3 separate regions of the Homo sapiens genome follow, and regions 1 and 3 are each linked to region 2. Evidence: promoter capture Hi-C in 16 types of primary human blood cells and fetal thymus (Javierre and others, 2016). All regions are on one chromosome and are shown on one strand. The core of a region is centred on a gene start or on the middle of the fragment in contact, and the rest is flanking DNA. Distances in the headings are between cores, read along the strand shown.

Region 1 (4,734 bases), core at 1,892-4,391, 240 kb before region 2:
TTTCCAAATGCTCAACTTAAAAGGCTTCTTTACTAAAAATTCTTCAGGTTATTCTTTCCCCTTCTTTCTTCTTTAATAGAGTAGACTCCCTTGGGTTCCAGATTAAGGGGGAAAAAATCTTATCAACTAATATATTAGCAACACTTTTTTGACATTTTAAAGTTGCTTCATAATTGTCATTACTAGCCTTTTTAAAATTATTATTAAGAAGAATGCCAACTTAAAAGCTTGGTGCCCAACAGAATAATCCCATGTCAATTTCCTTGCATTTTGTTGGGATAGATGTGAAGAGAAAAGGAAGCTAGAAATTCAAAGAATTTTACCGATTATATCCAGAGAGGTTAAGTGACTTCCCTGAAATCACACAGATGGGGCAAAAAGAAGACAAGAATCCATGTATCCTGACTCCAGGGCAAATGCACATTTCAAACATTATACAACTTCAAATCCTTTAACACAACCTCAAAGATTAATACACACTGGCAATTTAAAAGTAATCCCTCACTAACCCTGGGGAATCCACACTGATTTATAATTTTAAATAATTAAAACCCCACATTTATATTTTACTACAAATACATCCAGCTACTTCAGTGTGCTTATGGTACATTCTTTTAGCCACTTGCAGTTACATTGGGAGAAGGAATATTTTACCCCAAGATTCTCCATGAAAATGTTGGATCTGGAACCTCTGATGCCACCAAATTCAAGCAACTGTAAAAATGTTTTCTTTTTAAAAAAAATGATTCTAATAATTCATTTCCTAGTATACACTGGTCATGTAATTTACTGAAAGAACATAAGCTGTTACAGACATTCAGATGAAGTCAGGTTAGTAGTGGAACACAAGATAATGGGAAACCTGAAAGAACAAAAAAGATCACAGTCTTGACAACTGCGGTGAAACACTTATAACCTTACATATATGCAAAAAGGGGATTATGAAAGACAATGTCTAGGGCTGCAAGGAAGTTACTAGAAAATATATATTGAGGCTGGGCACGGTGGCTCACACCTGTAATCCCAGAACTTTGGGAGGCCGAGGTGGGCAGATCACGAGGTCAGCAGTTCAAGACCGGCCTGGCTAACATGGTGAAACCCTGTCTCTACGAAAAATACAAAAATTAGCCAGGTATGGTGGCAGGCACCCATAATCCCAGCTACTCGGGAGGCTGAGGCAGGAGAATCGCTTGAACCCGGGAGGCGGAGGTTGCAGTGAGACAAGACCAAGCCATTGCACTCCAGCCTGGGTGACAGAGCGAGACTCTGTCTAAAAAAAGAAGAAAAAAATATATATAGAGAGAGAGAGAGAGAGAGACGGGGGGGGGGGGGGGGGCGGAGGGAGGGAGAGAGAGAGAGAGAGAGACGCAATGTTAGCTTTATCCAGGACCAAGATGTGGTTAGAACAATTTATGATATAAGAAGGGTGTGAAAGCAACCATGTGAAATCACCCTTTTCCAAGTTCTGAAAAACAATTATGTGTACAATAGTTTGTACTATATCGTCATGTGTTTGAGGTTCTTTCCTTCTATTTTTACATGTAATCTCTCCCAATCACTCTAACACCTTAAATACCTTAACACTCTAACGCCGTAAACCCTAAGTGTTCAAATTCTTTCATACACATTCATTTACTGTGCACCGACTACGTGCATTAAGAAAGGGTCCCTGCCACTGAGCAGCTCACTGTCCAGTAGGGAAAGCCAGATCCATAAACAGGTACCGCAAGACAGTAGAGCTGGTACAACTGATAGAAGATGTAGAAGTTGGGAAGAAAAGGACAAGAGTTCCAAAGCCGCAATGCAAGTCAACAACTGCATTCCCTTAGCCAGAAGTAGCAGAACCTGTTTTTGTACCCATCCACTCCCTCTAGACAACTCATTAGATGAGTGACATGAAGACCATCTTTGCAGTTGGGATAATTAATTGAAGTCAGTTAAAAATGAATAAGCCTTCCTAAAAGGGACTAGAGAGGAAAAATAAAGGGTGGTAGAGTGTAAACTGGAAGTAGGTTAAGGGATCATGCTTATAGAGATGCTTAAAGTTGCGCTTTAACTGTAATTTCAAAGTCAGGGTAATCTGTATTTCAACATGAGTCCTTAACACAAATTATTTTTATGAAGAATAAAGATTTAGGAGATGATGAGATCTAATACATCCAGAATAACCAATTATAACAAAGACCCTCAGTCAAATAGTTGGTAGTAGATAAAAGGCTTTATATGAATATTACAAGAATCACCACCACTCCAAATATAATAAGTGTACCAAATATGAAGTAAAATGACTTTAACAAGGCTGACTTGAAAGTGATAAAGAAGCAAGTTACTGCTAACAAGATAGTGGAAATACTGCACAGGCACCGATAAACAGAAATCACCAAGCTCAAGGAAAGAGAAACGAGGCATAGATCCAGAGATCACGTTAGGGTACACCAAGAAAGAGACGGTTCAAGGGAATTACCAGGAGGCGATGAGCCAGGTAAGCAAATTGTGGCAGTTAAGGGGATTTTCATAACCTGAGCAGGAGGGTCCAGACGTTTCTTTCTGATGGTGGCACTAGCGATATCACATCTCAGGGAGATACCACAGAGTAGGAGAGTTGGAGAAATGTTTACGTGAGACGCAGAAGTAGTCAAGAAATATCACTCGGGTCTCAAGGAAGGCGGGAGATGAAGCCGGTACCACAGAAAGCCGAGCTTCCCGGTGAAAACAGCTCTCCCCAGAGAAGACCCAGCTCTGGCGGGAAAGCCCCGGAATCGCAACCGGCCTTTCCCCAAGTACGGCTGGGCGCTGGGATGGGGCCTGCTGTAACGGCAGGGAGACGGTCTCTCCGCGGCCCAGGAGAGAGAGACCAGAAGGAACGGCCTCAGGTAGCCTAACGGCCACCGGCGGCCACAGCGCGGCCACCGGACAGCAGGGGGGAGGGGAGGTGGTCCCAGGGGGCGGGGCAGAGGAAAAGGCGCCGGCCCCACAGTGCTCCCCGCTTCCGCCCAGTCCAGCCCGGGCCGGCTGACCGGGTCCGACACAGTCTCCTGGACCAGGCTCCCTCCATCCTCACCCCTCCCCCAGCTTCCCGCCGCCACTCACCGAACCGGAACCGGCTGCCATGCGAAGGGGTTTCCGGCCGGGCGCGGAACGCAAAACCCGGGAACCGCCGCGAACCGGAACCGCCTTCACAGCACCGGAAGAGTCGCTAGGTGGCTGAAGAGGAGGGGGCTGGGGCAGGAGGTCAAAGAACAGAGTTAAGGACCAGTGGGGCGCCTGCGCGGTGTGGCGAGGCCCGAGAAGCGAAGGGAGCATTTAAGACTAGTCGTAATTTCTCAGTACCCTTTTCAGTCTGGGCTTTTTCGCTTTCTCGTACTCGGAATACTGTTAGTGAGCCCTTCGTCCTATGCTTTTCTCTGTTCCCTCTGCTCCCTTACCCGCCGCCTTCTGGTTCCGCCCGGCGAGTTTTGCTTGCTTGCGTTCCAGTTTCCATGGCAGCTTTTCGCGGTGGCCCTAAATCTGCGGAAACCTGTGGCTTCCCCCGACAGATAGGGACCTGAGATCTAAATCGATCTCAGGCTATCTCGTGTTTTATTGAGAATCACAGAACGTTAGTGCTTGTAGAGGTTATTGGAGATACTTTAGTCTTACCAGGTTCAGAGAAGTGAAGTGATTTCCCAAAGGTTTTAAGTGCACGGCCCATCTAGGACTAGGAAACAAGTTTCTTAACTTGCAATCCTGTACTCTGCACCACCTCATACTTGATTGACCATTCAGCAAGCAAACAAACAAACAAACAAGCAACTTGAGGACGGATTAGGCTAGACTCTGGCAAGATGTAGAACCTTCCAGAACTCTGGAGGAATTTGAAACAGGCAGAGCTGTGAGGAAAGCTTTTGGGAGCCCACTAGAGATCTGCTTTTCTGGGTAGAGATAGAGAAGGACCCAGGAATCACCTGTGACCTTTGAAGGGCTTTGTTGTTCCTGGGACACATTGATTAACCTGGAATCTGCCATACTTTCTAAGAGAACATAATGGGAAGAAATATGTTTGTTCATTCAGGCTTTTTGTCAAGCACCTCAGCTTGGCAGGCCTCTGGACCCAGGCCCTGTAGAAGTCTTAGAGAAATGCCCCCTTAATAGGTCCTTTACACCCAGATCACAGCCACAGGCACAGTCTGAGCTCAGACTTAAAGAAGGGCAGTTTCTGGAGGCCCCCAGCCTTTCTGATACTCTCAGCAGCTTGCTGAGTTCAGGGTTTCCTCCCCTGTCAAATACATCAAAGTAGATTATTTGTATTGCCTCATGTGCTGATACTTTTATATTATATTGTCAAGTCCTAAGGCCAAGTAGTCATGAGTGTAGCTGGTCCATGTCAGTCACTGACATCTTATTTCACAGCTCTGTTCGTTTGGATTAAACTCTGTCTCTATTTCTAGGAGGCAGCCATGCATAAAGACGAGTTTCATCTGAAATTTTTCATGTGTGTGATTCAGTCTCGCCAGTTAGTCAGGACTCCTCAGAGAACAGGTACCCTTGTCTCCTGATCATACTCCAGTGACAGAGAATGGGTTCTCTCACAAGAAGTCTAAATACAGGATGTGAGGCTTTCTAGTGTAAATACGGATTTTAGGGGTCAACTGACCTTGTTTATCACATTCTCACTTTGATAAAATATTGATCACTGAGTCGTGTATTTTCCAGGTAAGATTTTGACCTGGTTTGTTGTGATAGATGCCAGGCAGA
Region 2 (4,692 bases), core at 763-3,262:
AACCTGTTTATTTGTCAGGCACCAGTCAGATCTCATTAGAAAAATATATTCAGTTTGAAAGAAGCGTATGGTGAAGCCAGTGTGTGTTCATCAGAAAACATCAAAGTCAAGAAAGGGATTGGAAATACAGCCACTGGGAAAGTTAAAAATGTCGGATGTAGTTTTCTCTGTCTGGAGAAGAAGGCTGATGAATGATGCTACTAATGAATAAAAACAGAGGTCCCTTCTATCTCTATATAGGTCAAACAGAAAAAAATGGGTCTTGATTGCAAGAGAAGAGATTTAGGTTATTTTTTTTTAATTCTTAATAATCCTGCAGTGTACAATACCAGATAGTGGGCTCTTCTTTTTCTTTAGACAACTTAAGAGCAGGATGGGTCACACTTCTGTTGTGATAGGGCTTTATGGCAGAGAAATAATCTGAGACTCAGAATCTCTTTCTGTTTGGCAACATATTTTGGGTATTCTTATTCAATATCCAAACAGTCAGAGTCAGTGAAAGGCTTCCAAGAGCAGTCAGAAACTTGGTAACTATCCTGGCTTACTTACATCCTTTCAATAACACTTGCAAGAACCTTGAAGGCCAGGGTAGGTAATCACAGATGTCAAGTCGTCTATTTTCTTGCCTATTTGTCTTTGACAAAAGAGGTAGGTGGGAACCCTAAGCCCAATGCACAGGAAAAACAAATTCCCTTTTTATCTCAGAAGTCCAAAGATGGCTCAGGGCCTCATGGGAGCACCCTGGACTGATTCCCAGCCTAGGAGGTTTCCTTTTCAGAGACTTTTCATGAGAAAGGAAAATTCTTGCTAAAGCAATAAAGGGAAACTTCCATTTTAGCTCTCTTCTCTGAATTCCAGCTCTGTATCCACTTTTAACACACAGGGCACTAATTCTCCCTCTTCGTCCCATCTTTCTGGTTCTCTAGCTCCTGTGCAAATCCTCCCTGAAGGCTTTACCTCTAGCTACATATCTGGACACTTGTCTCAAACCCTTTCTCCATCTCCCCCAGGTAGCAGAGTCTCTTAATGGGAAGCCTCTTTGTGCAGAGCCCATTGGGCCAGCTGTAAGTTTTTCTATACCACTGACAGAAATCCGTGGAAGTGCTAGCAAAAATCTCAGCAAAGGATGGGATGGGTACCTGTCCTCAGCTTGCATTTCCTAAGATATTCACGCAGAGCCAGCACCTGGGCGGTTAAGGTGGTAGCCCTAACCTCGTTTCTCCTGGTTCCAGGATGATCCCATGCCCACTGCAGTGTGGGTTCTAGGGCTTTCATTTCCCCCTTTTCTTCACACATATGGGTAGCAAGGGACCTGCAAAAGGAAGTTTCTGCAGCCAGTGCTGATGAACAGAAAAGGGGCCATGTTATAAAAATGAGTAGCCCAAGGGCACACGGACGAGTTGGCTCCGTCCATCAGAGAACCCTGGCCCCTGCCACGGGTAGGGCATGGGCGGGACGGGAGCCTGCTCAGGGGTAAGGTTGCTTCTTCCCTTCTTCTTGTCACAGTGCCCCTGGAAAGGGTCAGATTTCAGAGAATCCGAGCAAGGCAGAACTGGAGCAGGGGAAGTGAGGTCAGAAAACAGGTTTCCCATGAGCTGGGGCATGAGCAAGTGAAGAGAAAGGGAGCCACGGGGTAACCTGTGCGCGAGTGACAGCGGCGGGAGCCCGCAGGGCCTGACAGTTGCGATGGGCACGGGGAGACAGGGCGAGAGGCGGGCACAGAATGTCAGCGGGGCAGACCCCCGGGAAAGGCAGCAACCCGGAAGACGCGCCGATCCTCCTCCCAGCCCCTATGGGTGACCGAGCCCCCACCAGCCGCCCCGGGAAGCCAGGCGTCCCTCCCTCCAGCCGCAGCTCCCTCCGGCCCGGCTCCACTCACCCCCGGTAGGCTTGGCCCGCGGCCCGGTGCCTCCCTCCCGGGCGCCGCCTGCCCCTCCCCTCCGCCCTCCGCTTGCGTCTGGGAGCCGGCGGCCGGCGGAGCCAGCGACAGGCGGAGACGGCGGCCCGGCAGGCGCGGGCGGGGCGGGGCGGGCACAGGAAATCCCCGCCCGCTTCCGGGGCTCTGCGGCGGCGGAGGTGCGGGGAGTGGGAGGGAGAGGAGTGGGAGGGAGAGGAGTGGGAGGGAGGGAGGGAGGGAGGGACGGGAGGGGGCGGGGCTGCGGCTCAGGCGCCCCCAAACGCGAACCCGGGACCTCCGCGCCCGCCGCTGTGGGGAGGGTGCGGCCCGAGACGCTTGGAGGGCGGCGGGCGCCGGAATCGCAGCCTGCTGTGGCCACTTGCCCGCACTCTTGCCTGACTGACCATTTTCCGCTCTGGCTACTGGGCCTCCCACGGAGTTCTGTCCTCAGGGTTCGTCAATTACCTGGAATTGCGTAACCGCCCGTTACAGGCCAGACCGAGGCCGAGAGCGATTTCTCCAGACAACAGTCTGGAATTCCTCAAGGAGCGTACCCTCTAGTTTTCACGATAGGATAAAGGGCTTGAGAGAGCACTGAGGAGGAGTCACTTATTCTGCCTGAGGGGAAGTCAGGTTGCTATCTGAAGTTGGCCTTGCGGCTGCTGTCCCATTTGCGGGAGCCGTAGCCGCAGGTGACACCTGAGCTCTCGAAATGTGGCTGGTCTGAATAGAGATGTGTTCCAAGATTTAGAAGATTTAATTTAAAAAGTGATATTTTGGGTATATTGGGTTAAATATATTAAAATTAATTTCACCTGGTTTTAACTTTTTAAATGTGGCTATAAATATGGCTTGCATTATATTTCTATTGGATAGTGCTACCTTGCAGCATTAAGATGGATTTGACTAGAAAAGATGAGAAGGGCCTACAAACAGTGAGTAAACCCATTGCTGTTAGAATCTGTTTATAACCTACAAGTCACATTCACATTCCTTATTTCATCATTACAACAATTTTCAAAAATTTTATTTAGTAGACTTAAAAAATAATTGACTCACTTAAGGTCATATGTGACAATCATTCGTTTAATGCATATTTATTTTCTACGTGTGCCAGACACTGTAACTAAATGCTGGGAGTTAAAGGATTCACAGTCTGGGGAAGCACATGTCAACAAATATTTGCAATAAAAACGTAGATTCTAAAACAGAGGAACGTACGCTGCACTTGAAGCAAAGAGAAGTGACCACGTATGGGACGGAGGTCAGAGAAGGCCCCCCACTCTGACAGAAATCGTGAGGCAGAGAAGAGTCAGGAGGGCTGTCTAATGAAAGAGGAAAATGCAGTAGACACGCAGTTGGGAAGAGTATAGAGCATATTCTAGGAGCAGATCATGGGATATGTCGGGGTAGTAGTAGAGCCAGAATTTTTATCCCGGGTCCTGGAACTAAGTCCAGGGGTTCTTTTCACTTATGCTACCACTGGTGGTAAATATAAGGTGCGTTAATTGGAGTAGGCTAGCAAAACCAGTATCTCGGGGCTTAACTCCATAAAGGCTTATGTTCATACAAGTCACAGTGTGGTAACAAGTTGGTTGGGGCCAGAGGGTGGGGTCTGTACTTCTTGAATTCATTGAAGGACCAGGCTTCTTGCATTTGGTGGTTCTCCCATGCCGAGGCCTTGGTAATGTAGTCAAATCTGTGGCCCTCAGATAAGGGAGGCTGGCCGTGGTTAACTTGTCAGAGATATTAGGGGCCAGTCCTGGAAGTGGTGTGTATCATTTTCACCCCATTCCCTTAGCCAGAACTCATGCGCATGGTCACATGGCCCTACCCAGAAGGGTGGCTGGGAAGTAAAGAATGTGTGCCTCATGGAAAAGGAAATGGGCGCTGCTGGACACAGCATTGCCTCGTCACACAGAGTTAAATTGAACATAACCAAGTACGTAAACCTGACTTTACCTGAAAAGAATGTTTGGAAAGAACTGATAGATATTATAATAGCCCAAACTCTCCTCGACTGTTTTGGGAAACAAATCAGTGTGAGATTGTTTCCAAAAAATAAAAAAAGCCAGGTGCAGTGTCTCATGCCTGTAATCCCAGCACTTTGGGAGGTAGAGGCGGGCGGATCACAAGGTCAGGAGTTCAAAACCAGCCTGGCCAACATAGTGAAACCCTGTCTCTAGCTGGGCATGGTGGTGCGTGCCTGTAGTCCCAGCTACTTGGGAGGCTGAGGCAGGAGAATCGCTTGAAACCAGGAGGTGGAAGTTGCAGTGAGCAGAGATCGTGCCACTAATACTCCAGCTTGGGCAACAGAATGAGACTTCGTCTCAAAAAAAAAAAAAAAAAAAGAGGCTGAATGGTATCATCTTCTTTATACCAGAACCTTTTCTTTTTAAAAATAACTTTTATAATTTTAAATTTGTGTAGTTACATAATAGGTGAATATCTTTATGGGGTACATGAGATATTTTGATGCAGGTATGCAATGCATGATAATCACATCATGGGAATCAGGTATCCATCCCCTCAAGCATTTATCCTTTGTGTTACAAACAATCCAATTATACCCTTTTAGTTACTTTAAAATGTACAGTTATTATTGACTATAATAACTATTAAATACTAGGTCTATTAAATACTAGGTTGTTCTATTAAATACTAGGTCTTATTCATGCATTCAAACTATTTTTTGTACCCATTAACCATCCTCACTGTCCCCATTCCCCCATTACCCTTCCCAGCCTCTGGTAACCATCCTTCTACTCTCTATCTCCATGGGTTGAATTGTTTTG
Region 3 (5,049 bases), core at 1,706-4,205, 220 kb after region 2:
TATTAATGTTTATCTTGTCTTTCCCATTAGTCCTTGAGGGAAAAGGCTATTCAGCCAACTTTGTGTTTTTGTTTTTTGTTTTTGTTTTTGTTTTTTGAGATGGAGCACCCAGGCTAGAGCGCAATGACGCGATCTCAGCTCACTACAACCTCTGCCTCCCAGGTTCAAACAATTCTTCTGCCTCAGCCTCCCGAGTAGCTGGGATTACAGGCGCCTGCCACCACACCCAGATAATTTTTGTACTTTTGGTAGAGACAGGGTTTTGCTGTTAGCCAAGCTGGTCTCAAACTCCTGACCTCAAGCAATCTGCCCACCTCAGCCTTCCAAAGTGCTGGAATTACAGGTGGAAGCACTGCACCCGGCCAGTGTTTAGCCAACTTTGGATCCGTCTACAGTTCCTTGAATAGATTAGGTGATCAATAAAAGTTTGTTGCATTGAGTTGGTACAGACAGTAACCTTCACCTTTCTATTGTAAATTCAGCCTACTTCTTCTTCAGTAGAGATGGAAGGTGGCTATGACCTATGGCTTCAGTGTCCACCTACTCATCCTATTTCTTCCCCTTCCCTCCAGGGGGAAAAAAATTACAGCCAGTGACTTCAAAGTGGGACCTTTATTCAAGACAGAGGTGAAATCTGTGCTGTAGTGAAAGTGCCATCGAAGGCACTGAGTAAGGGTCTAGAGCTCAGTGCACCACTCAGGCATCCCTGGAAAATAGTCTTCAAGAATTCGGTGATGTCACTACAGGGCCCAAGGCTCAGAGACAGATAAGCTTTGGGGGAACAGAAAGAAACAAACTGAGGTGGCATTAGGGAAGAGGTATTCCAGGAGTGTGGAGTGGGCAGGGGTGCCAAGGACAGCAGACACTCACAACTTCTCACAAAGCCACTGTTCCAGCTTCTCAGTGCAGAGGGCTTTATGGGCCAACCTGATAATGGAGAAGGGGGACAAGGTGAGTTAGCTGACTGAATCTTTACATTCATTCCCAGGAGGGCTGAAGTGGAAGAGCGTGGACGAGAATTACAGAAAGACATTCCTGGCCTGATGTCAAGCGACACAAGCCATCAAGTGGAATACAGTCCATAAAAAATATCCAAGAAAATTGTAGGGTTAAAAAAGAGATGCAATGTTACCAACAGCTTGCTTTAGGGCATAGAACTAAACAAGTGGAATTAGATGTCCAAGTCTAAGTGAAAGGAGGCCTGGGTCTGAGCCCTCCATTAGGCAACCCCTTATTAGGAAAATTGCTACCAAGGAGCGGAGCGAGAGAGGCTTAATAACAGAAACCTGAGTCTCTAGGTAAGCTTTGTTTCAGACACTGTATTCTAGATTAAATGACCAAGAGATAGGGTAAGAGGAAAGGGGTGCTGGGCTAATGGGGTAAGGAGAAGGAGGATGGGGAAATAGAAAATAGAATAAGGATTCACCAGTAGTCAATTCCTTTAATATCCAGGATCTTCTTGGCACACATTATGTCATCAGTAATGTCATCATCCAGGAACTCTGGCAGGAGTTACAGGGAAAGGATTGAGACAGCTGACAAGTATTACCCAGAAAGGCACTGAGTTCCCCTAACCCCTGGATCCAGTGGGTTCTCTAAACTCAAGGCTTGTGCCTGTTGTCTTTCTATATGAAAGGACCAATGTGGTAATGTCTAACCCTGGGTAGGGACTTCCTTCATTTCCCTGGGATATCTCTGGAGGAATCATCAGCTTCATCAACTGACTTACCCTGAAAATGCAGACAATCAGATTCCAAGACTCTCAGACAGCTCCGATTGTCTACCACTGAACCTCAAGGAACTGTCTGGGGATTTGATGACCATGAAAAATCCAAACAGCTTCTTACTCAGTACTGCCAATTCAAGTCCCACAATTTTTATAGAGCCCAGCCAAGGCAATGAAGCCTGAGGTCTGCTTGGCACTAAAAAGGAGATTATCCCAAGGGCAGGCCTCAGAAAAACAGAGAAAGAGGGTTATAGGGGCTACTCACTGTCACAGGAGATGTCACAGATGTTCCTTGACTGAGGGACCTGGCTGCTCTTGCACCAAAGCTTATTACTGATCTGGAAGAGTCCATATTCCGTGCTTTCATTGTTTTCAACTATGGCTTGTGTGTCATAACCACTGGTGTGAAACATGGTACAGATCACTGAGGGAAAGATGAGAAAGAGATACCACAGAGATGTACAGGATCTGCATAAAGGAGGAACTGTAATTCTCAGACAAAAATGCTTTCCAGCCAATCTCCAAAGATGGCAAAGCTCAGAGTTTCTTGATGAGATGGAGAATTCCAAAAAAAAATCAGACAATAAGAGAAAGAAAGGATAGGAAAATAAATGGGGCCAGGCATGATGGCTCACGCTTGTAATCCCAACACTTTGGGAGGCTGAGGAGGGCGGATCACCTGAGGTCAGAAGTTTGAGACCAGCCTGGCCAACATGGTGAAACCCTGTCTCTACAAAAAATACAAAATTAGCCAGGCATGGTGGTGGGTGCCTGTAATTCCAGCTACTTGGGAGGCTGAGGCAGGAGAATCACTTGAACCGAGGAGGCGGAGGTTGCAGTGAGCCGAGATTACACCATTGCACTCCAGTCTGGGCAACAAGAGCGAAACTCCACCTCAAAAATAAATAAATACATACATATATACATACATGAAATAAAAGAGTATGCAAATGAGCAGAAAAGAGGATGATTAGATAATTAAGTAAAAGTGGAGGGGCGAAGTGGAAGAAAGAGGGGATGGAGGAGAGAAGCGTATGAGGAATGGATGAAACACAGAGGCAGGGAACTCACATTCAGGCAAAGCGATGCCTCCATAACCATCTATGTCTTTCAGCAGCTGGGACAGCTCACATTTTGTGAATTGCTTGGCCAGGATGGCAGGGAACAGGATGCCCACCAGGAACAGAGGGACAAAGAACCTCATTTTGGCTACCCCCAAGAACCTGAAATGGAAGCATCACTCAGTTTCATTTATTTATATTCATGCAGAAAGCCTCAGGGGCTCTGGTACCAAGCCCTACATCTAGGAAGAGAATGAAGAGAGACTGGTCATGCCAAGACAGAAACGCTGAGCCTGCCAGCTTCCTTCCATAATTCACCCTACTTTTCCTTTCCCTCTCCCAGTATCTAGTCCATAGCAGGTATTGTTCTCTGGCCAGAAAGAGTTCAAACCATGATCCTGCTTCCCATTTGGCTTTGTTTAGCCCTTTGTTTCTTGTAGGGTTGGTTCTGGGAAGCACTGTCTCTGGTTACTTGAGGAACAAAGAAGGGCATGGGGGCAATATAAGAAGTGAGGCAATCAGAAAATACAATAAAGTTCTATACCGAGCTTCCCCCTTCCCCCCTAGAGACATGCAGAATGTGGAGAGGGGGTGTATGTCATCACATGCCACAGTCCCAGGATCAGAGCTGGCACTTGTCCAACCAATCCAGCCATGTAACAAGGCCCAGAATTAGTTCTTTAATATGGTAGCTCATGACTGAAGGCTCAGAAATAGGAATAGAATATGGGAACGTAGACTACAACAATCCGATATAACTTGGATCTTAAGACTTCCTACTTAAGGAAAATGCATAATTGAAAAGCCTGTATGAAAGCATCTAGGCCAGGCACAGTGGCTCACACCTGTAATCCCGGCATTTTGGGAGGCCGAGTCTGGTGGATCACTTGAGCCCAGGAGCTCGAGACCAGCCTGGGCAACATGGTAAAATCCCATCTCTACAAAAAAAATTAGCTGGGCATGGTGACATGTGCCTGTAGTCCCAGCTACTTGAGGGGCTGAGGCAGGAGGAACACTTGAGCACAGGAGGTCGAGGCTGCAGTGAGCCATGTTCACTCCACTGCACTCCATCCATCCTGGGAGACAAAGTGAGACCCTATCTTTAAAAAAAAAAAAAAAAAAAAAGAATCTAGCTATCCTACGAGCTATTATCAGATTCCCCACCCCTAACCACTCCTACCGTAAATAACCAAATACTACACTGGCATTGAGACATTACATAAATCTAAGACCAATAACTTGTAGACAACCTCAGAGTTGGCCACAGAAAGTGGGAAGGACCCAAGCCAGTGGAAAGATTGGACTTTAAGGCTGAACAAGCTTATGTCTGGAATCTCTATAAGGTCAGTGCCCCTGAGCAAGTAGAGTTGAGGATACTAGTTCTGAATAGCTCCTTTAATTTGCTGGCATGAAGCTTCATGTCATGGTGACAAGTAGCTCTTAGCTCCTTCATGCCACCATTCGTCTTCTTTGTCCTCATCTCTAAACCTGATTTCTTCTTCTTCTTCCTTTTTTTTTTTTTTTTTTGACCAAGTCTCACTCTGTTGCCCAGGCTGGAATGCAGTGGCGCGATCTTGGCTCACTGCAACCTCTGCCTCCCAGGCTCAAGTGATTCTCCTGCCTCAGCCTCCCGAGTAGCTGGGACTACAGGCACGTGTTACCATGCCCGGTTAATTTATGTATTTTTAGTAGAGACGGAGTTTCTGCATGTTGGCCAGGCTGGTCTCAAACTTCTGAGCTCAGGCAATTTGCCTGCCTGGGCCTCGGCCTCCCAAAGTGCTAGGATTACAGACAGGAGCCGCTGCGCTGTTTCTTATGTTTCAGGGAACATTTATCCCAACCAATCTATTTAAGACTTACATACTGAAGGTCTTCCATATCGTTATCTCCTACATGTATTCAGAGTCAGGGAAAAGTCCTCTCAGTTAAATCCTGTCTTCTGTACCATGGATAACCAGTATATGAAGTGGCATGAGTGAAGGGAATGTGGAGGATCTTGGTGTGCCAGAAGGGATGAGCAGAAAGTTCTGATAGCAAGAGATACATGTTCAGAAACACAACAGAAGTGGAGCCACTCCATTTCTCCGCATTCCACCCAGAGGCACTGCAAGGGTACACGACAGGAATGGGAATTCTATCACTCTAAGCTTTGTTGAGAATATGGCTGAGAGTGACCTTGAACCATGTGTGAGAGGGAAAGATAAGAAAAGCTAGTCCTGAGGACTAGTCCTTCCAATAGTGGAGTCTTGTGTAAAATGCCTC

Evidence for each region. Contacts are between HindIII fragments. The CHiCAGO score rates a contact against its expected background, and 5 or more counts as called.
Region 1: a contact is called between the fragment with the promoter of SENP1 here and the fragment with the promoter of ZNF641 in region 2, in 14 of 17 cell types (neutrophils, naive CD8 T cells, non-activated CD4 T cells and 11 more). The highest score is 14.7, in neutrophils.
Region 3: a contact is called between the fragment with the promoter of LALBA here and the fragment with the promoter of ZNF641 in region 2, in 16 of 17 cell types (total CD4 T cells, activated CD4 T cells, endothelial precursors and 13 more). The highest score is 14.4, in total CD4 T cells.

What each region holds. Positions count from the first base shown.
Region 1 is chr12:48,102,938-48,107,671 of GRCh38, forward strand. It overlaps SENP1 (SUMO specific peptidase 1), which reads right to left and starts at 3,142. Exons shown (of 18, transcript NM_001267594.2): 1 at 3,091-3,142. It also overlaps a transcript of PFKM not described here. RefSeq lists enhancers at 2,139-3,014, 2,520-2,729, 3,015-3,888 and a silencer at 2,870-3,009. The HindIII fragment of the contact is 3,654 bases long and covers 226-3,879 here.
Region 2 is chr12:48,348,907-48,353,598 of GRCh38, forward strand. It overlaps ZNF641 (zinc finger protein 641), which reads right to left and starts at 2,013. Exons shown (of 6, transcript NM_001172681.2): 1 at 1,880-2,013. RefSeq lists enhancers at 1,524-1,593, 2,032-2,768 and silencers at 1,734-2,163, 2,444-2,523. The HindIII fragment of the contact is 6,093 bases long and covers 1-4,692 here.
Region 3 is chr12:48,567,091-48,572,139 of GRCh38, forward strand. It overlaps LALBA (lactalbumin alpha), which reads right to left and starts at 2,956. Exons shown (of 4, transcript NM_002289.3): 1 at 2,798-2,956; 2 at 1,992-2,150; 3 at 1,427-1,502; 4 at 594-927. The coding sequence starts at 2,930. The coding sequence ends at 867. The HindIII fragment of the contact is 2,055 bases long and covers 2,051-4,105 here.